Linked DNA regions of Homo sapiens: region 1 is linked to region 2. The links are contacts of gene promoters, found by promoter capture Hi-C in blood cells and fetal thymus (Javierre and others, 2016). All regions are on one chromosome and are shown on one strand. The core of a region is centred on a gene start or on the middle of the fragment in contact, and the rest is flanking DNA. Distances in the headings are between cores, read along the strand shown.

What was found. The method cuts DNA at HindIII sites, captures the fragments that hold promoters and counts their contacts. A CHiCAGO score of 5 or more calls a contact.
Region 1: a fragment that was not itself captured here is called in contact with the fragment with the promoter of FAAH2 in region 2 in 2 of 17 cell types (activated CD4 T cells and total CD4 T cells); the score reaches 5.6 in activated CD4 T cells.

The regions. Positions count from the first base shown.
Region 1 is chrX:56,818,127-56,821,847 of GRCh38, forward strand. It overlaps NBDY (negative regulator of P-body association), which reads left to right. Exons shown (of 3, transcript NM_001348129.2): 3 at 1-1,053. Among named protein-coding and RNA genes, the nearest start is that of NBDY, 91 kb to the left of the region's middle. RefSeq lists a silencer at 2,030-2,324. The HindIII fragment of the contact is 3,504 bases long and covers 144-3,647 here.
Region 2 is chrX:57,285,432-57,289,112 of GRCh38, forward strand. It overlaps FAAH2 (fatty acid amide hydrolase 2), which reads left to right and starts at 1,275. Exons shown (of 11, transcript NM_174912.4): 1 at 1,275-1,586. The coding sequence starts at 1,395. The HindIII fragment of the contact is 1,960 bases long and covers 1-1,297 here.

The DNA of each region.
Region 1 (3,721 bases), core at 646-3,145, 470 kb before region 2:
AAAATAAAGCTTCTACCTTTGAATTGTAATAATAAAAGATAAACAGACTTGAAAGCATATATTATATCTGAAAATGTCAGATAAACTTGGCTTATAAATTAAAATATAAAATAATAATACAATTTGTTCAAATAAGTAATTAAAGCTTACATTGTAAAATGAATATTTAGAGAGATTGTGAAACCTGAGTATTTTACCCAATCCTCTGAAATTAGTCCCTAGCATCAGAATTAAAGAATCTGAAAAATCACAAATGGAGGTATGGTGACATTTATGTATATTCTAGAGTTATGTTATGCACACTTAATAAATTATAGACAGTTATTTTAAAGATTGTATAATATTACTAATCACACATTAGAGTTTTAAAACTTCTGAGCCAGGCTGAACATCACAAACAGTAAACACAGACTTCTTTAAAAGGACATCTGGTGAAAGGCATTTTATGCATCAGAAGGCACAGTATTATAAAGATGACAACACTCTTCAAAATAATCAAACTATTCAATGCAACCCTTATCAAAATTAAGGTTGCCTACTTTGAAGAAATTTATAACCTGATTCTAAAGTTCATATGAAAATGTAATGGACCCAGAATAGCCAAAACAATCTTGAAGTATACAAAGTTTGAAGAGTCACATTTCCAAATTTTAAAACTTATTACAAAGCTACAATAAACAAGTCTATGTGGTACTGGCATAGGATATAAATATTGATCAATGAAATAGAATCCAAAGTCCAGACATAAGCCCTCACAAAAGTTAATTTGCAGCCAATTAACTTCTGAGAAGGAGGCAAGACAAAAGGGGAAATAACTATTTTCAATAAATGGTACTGGGACAACTTGGTATCTACATGCAAAAAAAAAACAAAAAAACAAAAAACTTCCACCCCTACCTCATGCAAAATACAAAAATTAACTCAAAATAGGCCAAAGACTCAAATATAAGGGTTACACTATAAAACTCTTGGGAGGAAATATAGAATAAATTTTTGTGACCTTGAATTAAGTATTAGATTTTTAATTCTTACACCAAAGCACAAGTTAATAAAGGAAAAAAAAGATAAACTGGACATAATTAAAATTGAAAAAAAATTTGCTTCAGTGAACACAGTCAAGAAATTTGAAAGACAGCCACAGTGCAAGATTATTTTTGCAAATAATATGTCTCATAAATGACTTGTATCTAAAATATATAAGACCAGGCATGGTGGCTCATCCTGTAATCCCAGCACTTTGGGAGGCTGAGGCAGGGGGATCACTTGAGGTCAGGAGTTTGACACCAGCCTGGCCAACATGATGAAACCCCATCTTTACTAAAAATACACACACAAAAAAAATTAGCAGGGTGTGGTGGTGTATGCCTGTAATCTTAGCTACTCAGGAGGCTGAGGTGGGAGGATAGCTTGAACCTGGGAGGCAGAGGTTGCAGTGAGCCAAAATTGCACCAATGCACACTCCAGCCTAAGCAACAGGGCAAGACGCCATCTCAAAAAATAAAACAAAATAATAAAATAAAATAAACAGTAATTACCGCTAAATAATAAAACAAACAATAAACCAATTTTATAACGAAAGGATCTGAATAGATTCTTCTGTAAAGAAGACATACAAATCACAAATTACACATGAGAAGATGCTCAACACTATTAGTCATCAGGGAAATGCAAATCAAAATCACAAAGAGACAGCAATTTATACCCAGTAGGATACTTATTATTATTATTATTTTAAATAGCAAAATAATAAATGTTAGAATGTGGGAAAACAGGAACATGCGGCATTGTTGCTGGTAATGATAAATGTGCAGCCACTGGGCAAACAATTTTGTGGTTCCTCTCTAAGTTAAAAATAATGGCTGGGCGTGGTGGCTCACACCTGTAATCCCAGCACTTTGGGAGGCTGAGGTGGATGGATCACCTGAGGTCAGGAATTCGAGACTAGCCTGACCAACATGGTGAAACCCCATCTCTACTAAAAAATATAAAAAATTAGCCCAGCTACTCAGGAGGCTGACGCAGGAGAATCCCTTGAACCTGGGAGGCAGAGGTTGCAGTGAGCCGAGATCCCACCACTGCACTCCAGCCTGGGCATGACAGAGCAAGACTCCATCTCAAAAAAAAGAAAAAAAAAAGAAATAACATGCTACCCAGCAATTTTACTCCTGATACATAGCCAAAATAACTAAAAAACAGGTGTTCAAACAAAAATTGTACAGGACGGTTTACAGCAGAAATATTTGTACTAGGAAAATGTGGAAACAACTCAAATGCCCATCAACTGGTGAATGGAAAACAAAATGTATATTCACACAATGGAATATTAATTTAGTCATATACAGGAAATAAGTATACATACTGCCAGAATAAACCTTGAAAGCATTATGCCAAAAAAAAAAAAAAGGAAAATAATTCTTGCCTGGTGGTCTGGGAAAAGCAAAAGCATTATGCTATGTGAAAAAAGCCAGTCACACAGTACCATATATTATATAATTTCATATAAATAAAATGTCCACATGAGGCAAGTCTATAGGTTCAGAAAAAATATTTGCTTAAGGATGGAGTTTCCCTTAAGTTATGATTGAGAATTGATGTCTAAGGACTGTGTGATTTTATTCAGGGTTAATGAAAATGCATAAGAATTGACTGTAGTGATATTTACACATATCTATGCTTATCTATAAATATCCAAAACCATTGAATTGTACACTTTAAATCACGGATTGTATTATATGTGCATATCTCAAGTTGTTTAAAACAATAGATGTCTGGCTAGCACCTCCCAAGGCAGCCTCTCCCAACTTTTATTTTATTTTTTTGAGACGGAGTTTCACTCTTGTTGCCCAGGCTGGAGTGCAATAGTGCAATCTTGGCTCACTGTAACCTCCACCTCCCAGGTTCAAGGAATTCTCCTGCCTCAGCCTCCCGAGTAGCTGGGATTACAGGCATGCACCACCACACCCAGCTAATTTTGTATTTTTGGTAGAGACAGGGTTTCTCCATGTTGAGGCTGGTCTCGAACTCCTGACCTCAGGTGATCCGCCCGCCCCTTGGCCTCCGAAAGTGCCGGGATTACAGGCGTGAACCACCATGCCTGGCCAGCCTCTCCCAACTTATTAAATTCCTATGCAGCAAGATGGCAAAATGGAATTCTTCAGCACTCATAACCTTGCAGAAGTATCCATTTGAACAACTATTCATGCGCAAAATTACCTTTACAAGGCCTAAAGAAACCAAGTGAGAGATTACAGCACCTGGGTGTAGCAAATAAAGAAAGATGCATTTAAGAGTGGAGAAAGGGCAGATCATTTGAGGTCAGGAGTTTGAGACCAGCCTGGCCAACATGATGAAACCCTGTTTCTACTAAAAATACAAAAATTAGCCGGATGTGGCAGCAGGCACTTGTAATCCCAGCTACTTGGGAGGCTGAGGCAGGAGATTCGCTTGAATCTGGGAGGCGGAGTTTGCAGTGAGACAAGATTGCGCCACGCACTCCAGCCTGAGCGACAGAGCAAGACTCCATTTCCAAAGGGGAAAAAATAATAGAGTGGAAAAAGGACAGTTTTACATTATGCACATCACCCCTCCCCCAACTCTAAGTAGCACAGCATGGAGAAAGATACACATCTATGAGGGGAAGAAGAAAAAGCTTAGTACTGGACTTCCTCAAACCCCCAAACTGGGCCCATTCCAGTAAAACCTTGCACCAGAGAGGCCCCCT
Region 2 (3,681 bases), core at 25-2,524:
TGTTCTTCGAGGAGTTTATATCTAGATGGGGCATAGACACAAAAACCTAACACATAACAGAGGGTTGTAAGTGCTATGATTTTGTTAATCTGTGGAGTGCAGGGTTACAAAAGAGTGGCATCACACCCAGTTGTAAGTTCAGGGAAGACTTACTGGAGGAGGTGGTACTTGTCCTGAACTAGATGAAGAGGTTGGGAAAGCAGATGCAAAGATAAGGAGGGAAGAGAGAACTTTCGGATAGTTGTTTGTCAGGAGCTTAGCATGTGAGGGATAGAAGGGGTTAGGGATGAAGCATAGAGTTTTTCAGACACCAGTCATGAGAGTCGAATGCTGGACAAAGTAGATGGGTCTTGAATCTGTGGAAAATGGAGAATTATTGCGGAGTTATTGGCAGGGGTGTAATATTGTCAGATTTACATATTAGAAAGAACACTCTATAAATAAAGGCAGAGTGATCAGCTAGATTATTTGTAGAAGTTCATGTAAACCTCAGTGAGATCTGAGCCAGACTGAGTTGAGAAGGAAGGGCTGGATTCTGTCATGAGAATAAGAGAAATGGAAGAATCTGAAGTGATTCTAGATTTTTGGCATGGCTGACTGGGTGGATGAAAATTCCATTTGTAGACCTGTAGGGGCAGCAGTCTGGGGGACAAAAGGATGAGTTTTGGACTTGTTGAGTTTGAACGATCTGGAAGACATTCACATGGATATGTCAAAAAAGGCATTTCAAGTGTCCAGTTTAGGAGACAGATGGGCTGGAGATTTGATGTTCATCAGTACTACCTGTTAGTGATCTTATAAGGATTAAATAATATGCATATGGAAAATATATATATACTTGCCATTTAGTTGTTTGTTGAGCATACTGAATATTTGCATACAAAGGTATACTTACAACACTTTTTTCACAAGCACAGCTGAAATAAACTATAACAACTACCACTTATACTATTTACCATAAATTGTGCTAAATGTTTTTACTTATTATCTAGTGTTTATGGTAACCCTTTGATATAGGAGTAGTTATTCCCATTTTTTTTCTTATGAGTAAACTGACTAGGAGATATAGTGTAGGTTGGCCAGGGCTACACAGTAGCAGAACTGGGGAATTCCAAGGCCAGTGTTCTTTCTTATGACGCATTTTCTGTCTTGGGTTACAACAGCACTAACGACAGGTAGCATTGCACACAGGCAGCTGCTGGGAAGTCTCCGCCCCCATCTCTGGCTAGGAGCCCTGCAGGTGATGATAAACAAGCTCCTGTGGAATTGTGGGTAGACACTGGACTTGTAAACGAAAAGCTTCATAAGTCCCTCTTTGCTTAGTACTTTTCTCGTCCTTTCCCCAGGGTGCACGTAACCCTCAAGCACTAGGACCGTGCGGAATCCAGGCTGCGATGGCACCTTCATTTACCGCCCGCATTCAGTTGTTCCTCTTGCGGGCGCTAGGCTTTCTCATAGGCTTAGTAGGCCGAGCAGCTTTAGTCTTAGGGGGTCCAAAGTTTGCCTCAAAGACCCCTCGGCCGGTGACTGAACCATTGCTTCTGCTTTCGGGGATGCAGCTGGCCAAGCTGATCCGACAGAGAAAGGTGAGAATGCAATTCAGAAGAGGCTGGAGGGACAGGTCTTTTAGCAGGATCCAGGAAGCTTAGTGGTGGCGGTGGTTGTGGTTTCCTTTCCATTCTCTACTAGGGCGACTTAGGAGAGGCATTTATTGGGGATGAAGGGAGACTTCTGGGTGTTGTAGTACGTTTATTTTTACCAAGGACATTTACTGTGGGCATGGGTTGGACTATTTTGGTACCGTCATAGTCCTTCCTATCCATTTGTCCTATTTGTGCATAATTACTGTGTGTGGGGTAAAGCAGGTGTGAATTTCAAACTGATTCTCAGCTATGGAAAGTCAGTCTCTCTCTTTCTCTCTCCCTCTCCCTTTCTCTCTCTCTATTCTTCCGTCTCTCACAGGCCCCAGATCAACCTGCTGCTTACCATTCAACCAATTCTTTTTAAAATTGATTTAAAGTAAAAGTAGTACTTGGTCTAGGATAGTAAAAGCTGCGTCTACCATATATTTATTGCATAGTATATGTGAAATACTCTGCCTGGGTACTTAAACATATTCTATTTCACGGATGCAGTTATATAGGCAATATTCATATTTTATGCATAAGGAAACTGAAGTAAAATGATTTGCACAAAAATTGTTGAAAGTTCTAAATTAAAAAAATTAAGCAGCTCATTCGTTCTCTATAGAATTGTGCAGGCAGGACTATTCATCTCTGTCATATAAGTGATTGGTTACCTGGAGATCTTGAGCTACAGTCTAGTATTGTTTATTTATACTCTGCTTGTTTTCACCTCTCTGCTGTTTCATTTGTTTTTCGTCATTGCTTTATTTCCAGAATCTACAATACTACTTAACAAAGAATAGGCATGCAGCAAATACTATCTCAGTATGTGCTCCTGAATGTATGAATTATTAATATTTGTATTGTACTCCTGGTTACCTTTCAAAGACATATCCTGTCTTCTTGCCGTACCCCCTCCCCAGCCTCTACCCACTCATGCATGCTTTTCTACCAGTTAGGGAGGCAATGGGATGTATTCGGTTGGTGCAAAAGTAATTGTGATTTTGTAATTGAGATTTTGACATTACTTTTAATGGCAAAAATCACAATTACTTTTGCACCAACCTAATAGTAGAAAGATGATATATTTCAAATTTTGGACTGTCTGTTCATGGCTCTGTGACCTTGTGCCACACCAATAGCAGATAATACATATCAAGAACCTGGCACATAGAAGATTGTGTAACATAATGATTAGAAGGATGGACTCTAGAGTCAGACTCCCTGGGTTCAGAAATCCTAGCTTTTCTACGATCTAGCTCTGTGATCTTAAAAACATTTCTTTTTTTTTTTTTTTTTTTTTTTTTTTTTGAGACGGAGTCTCGCTCTGTCGCCTGGGCTGGAGTGCAGTGGTGCGATCTTCGCTCACTGCAAGCTCCGCCTCCCGGGTTGACGCCATTCTCCTGCCTCAGCCTCCCGAGTAGCTGGGACTACAGGCGCCCGCCACCATGCCCGGCTAATATTTCGTATTTTTTAGTAGAGACGGGTTTTCATCGAGTTAGCCAGGATGGTCTTGATCTCCGGACCTCGTGATCCACCCACCTCGGCCTCCCAAAGTGCTGGAATTACAGGTGTGAGCCACTGCGCCCGGCCTTAAAAGCATTTCTTAACTTTTTGTGTCTCTGATGTCCTTTAAGAAAAATGGATTTGATAATAGAATCTACCTTTTAGAGTTATTGTGATGAATTAAATGAATTCATATATGTAAAACTTATAGAATATTGTCTGGCATACTAATCCTATATAAATGTTAACTATTACTATTATTACTATCATCAAGTTTTTGGTAACTAGCCATTTTTTATTCATGCTTGCCCATGAGATGAGATGATCTAGATATAGTTTATCTAGATTTATAAAAATGTTCTGAAGGGGAGAAGTGGAGTGGATACAAAGTTTTATTTATCCCTTAGTTTCTGACATTTTTAAACATGGAAATATTGTTACTGCAAAACAACTAAATTTCTTAAACACCTACCATGTGCCACTTGATAAGGCAAACATTTTACTTAGATTTTTGTAAATTGAATCTTCATAATGACATTTTGAGGTACAT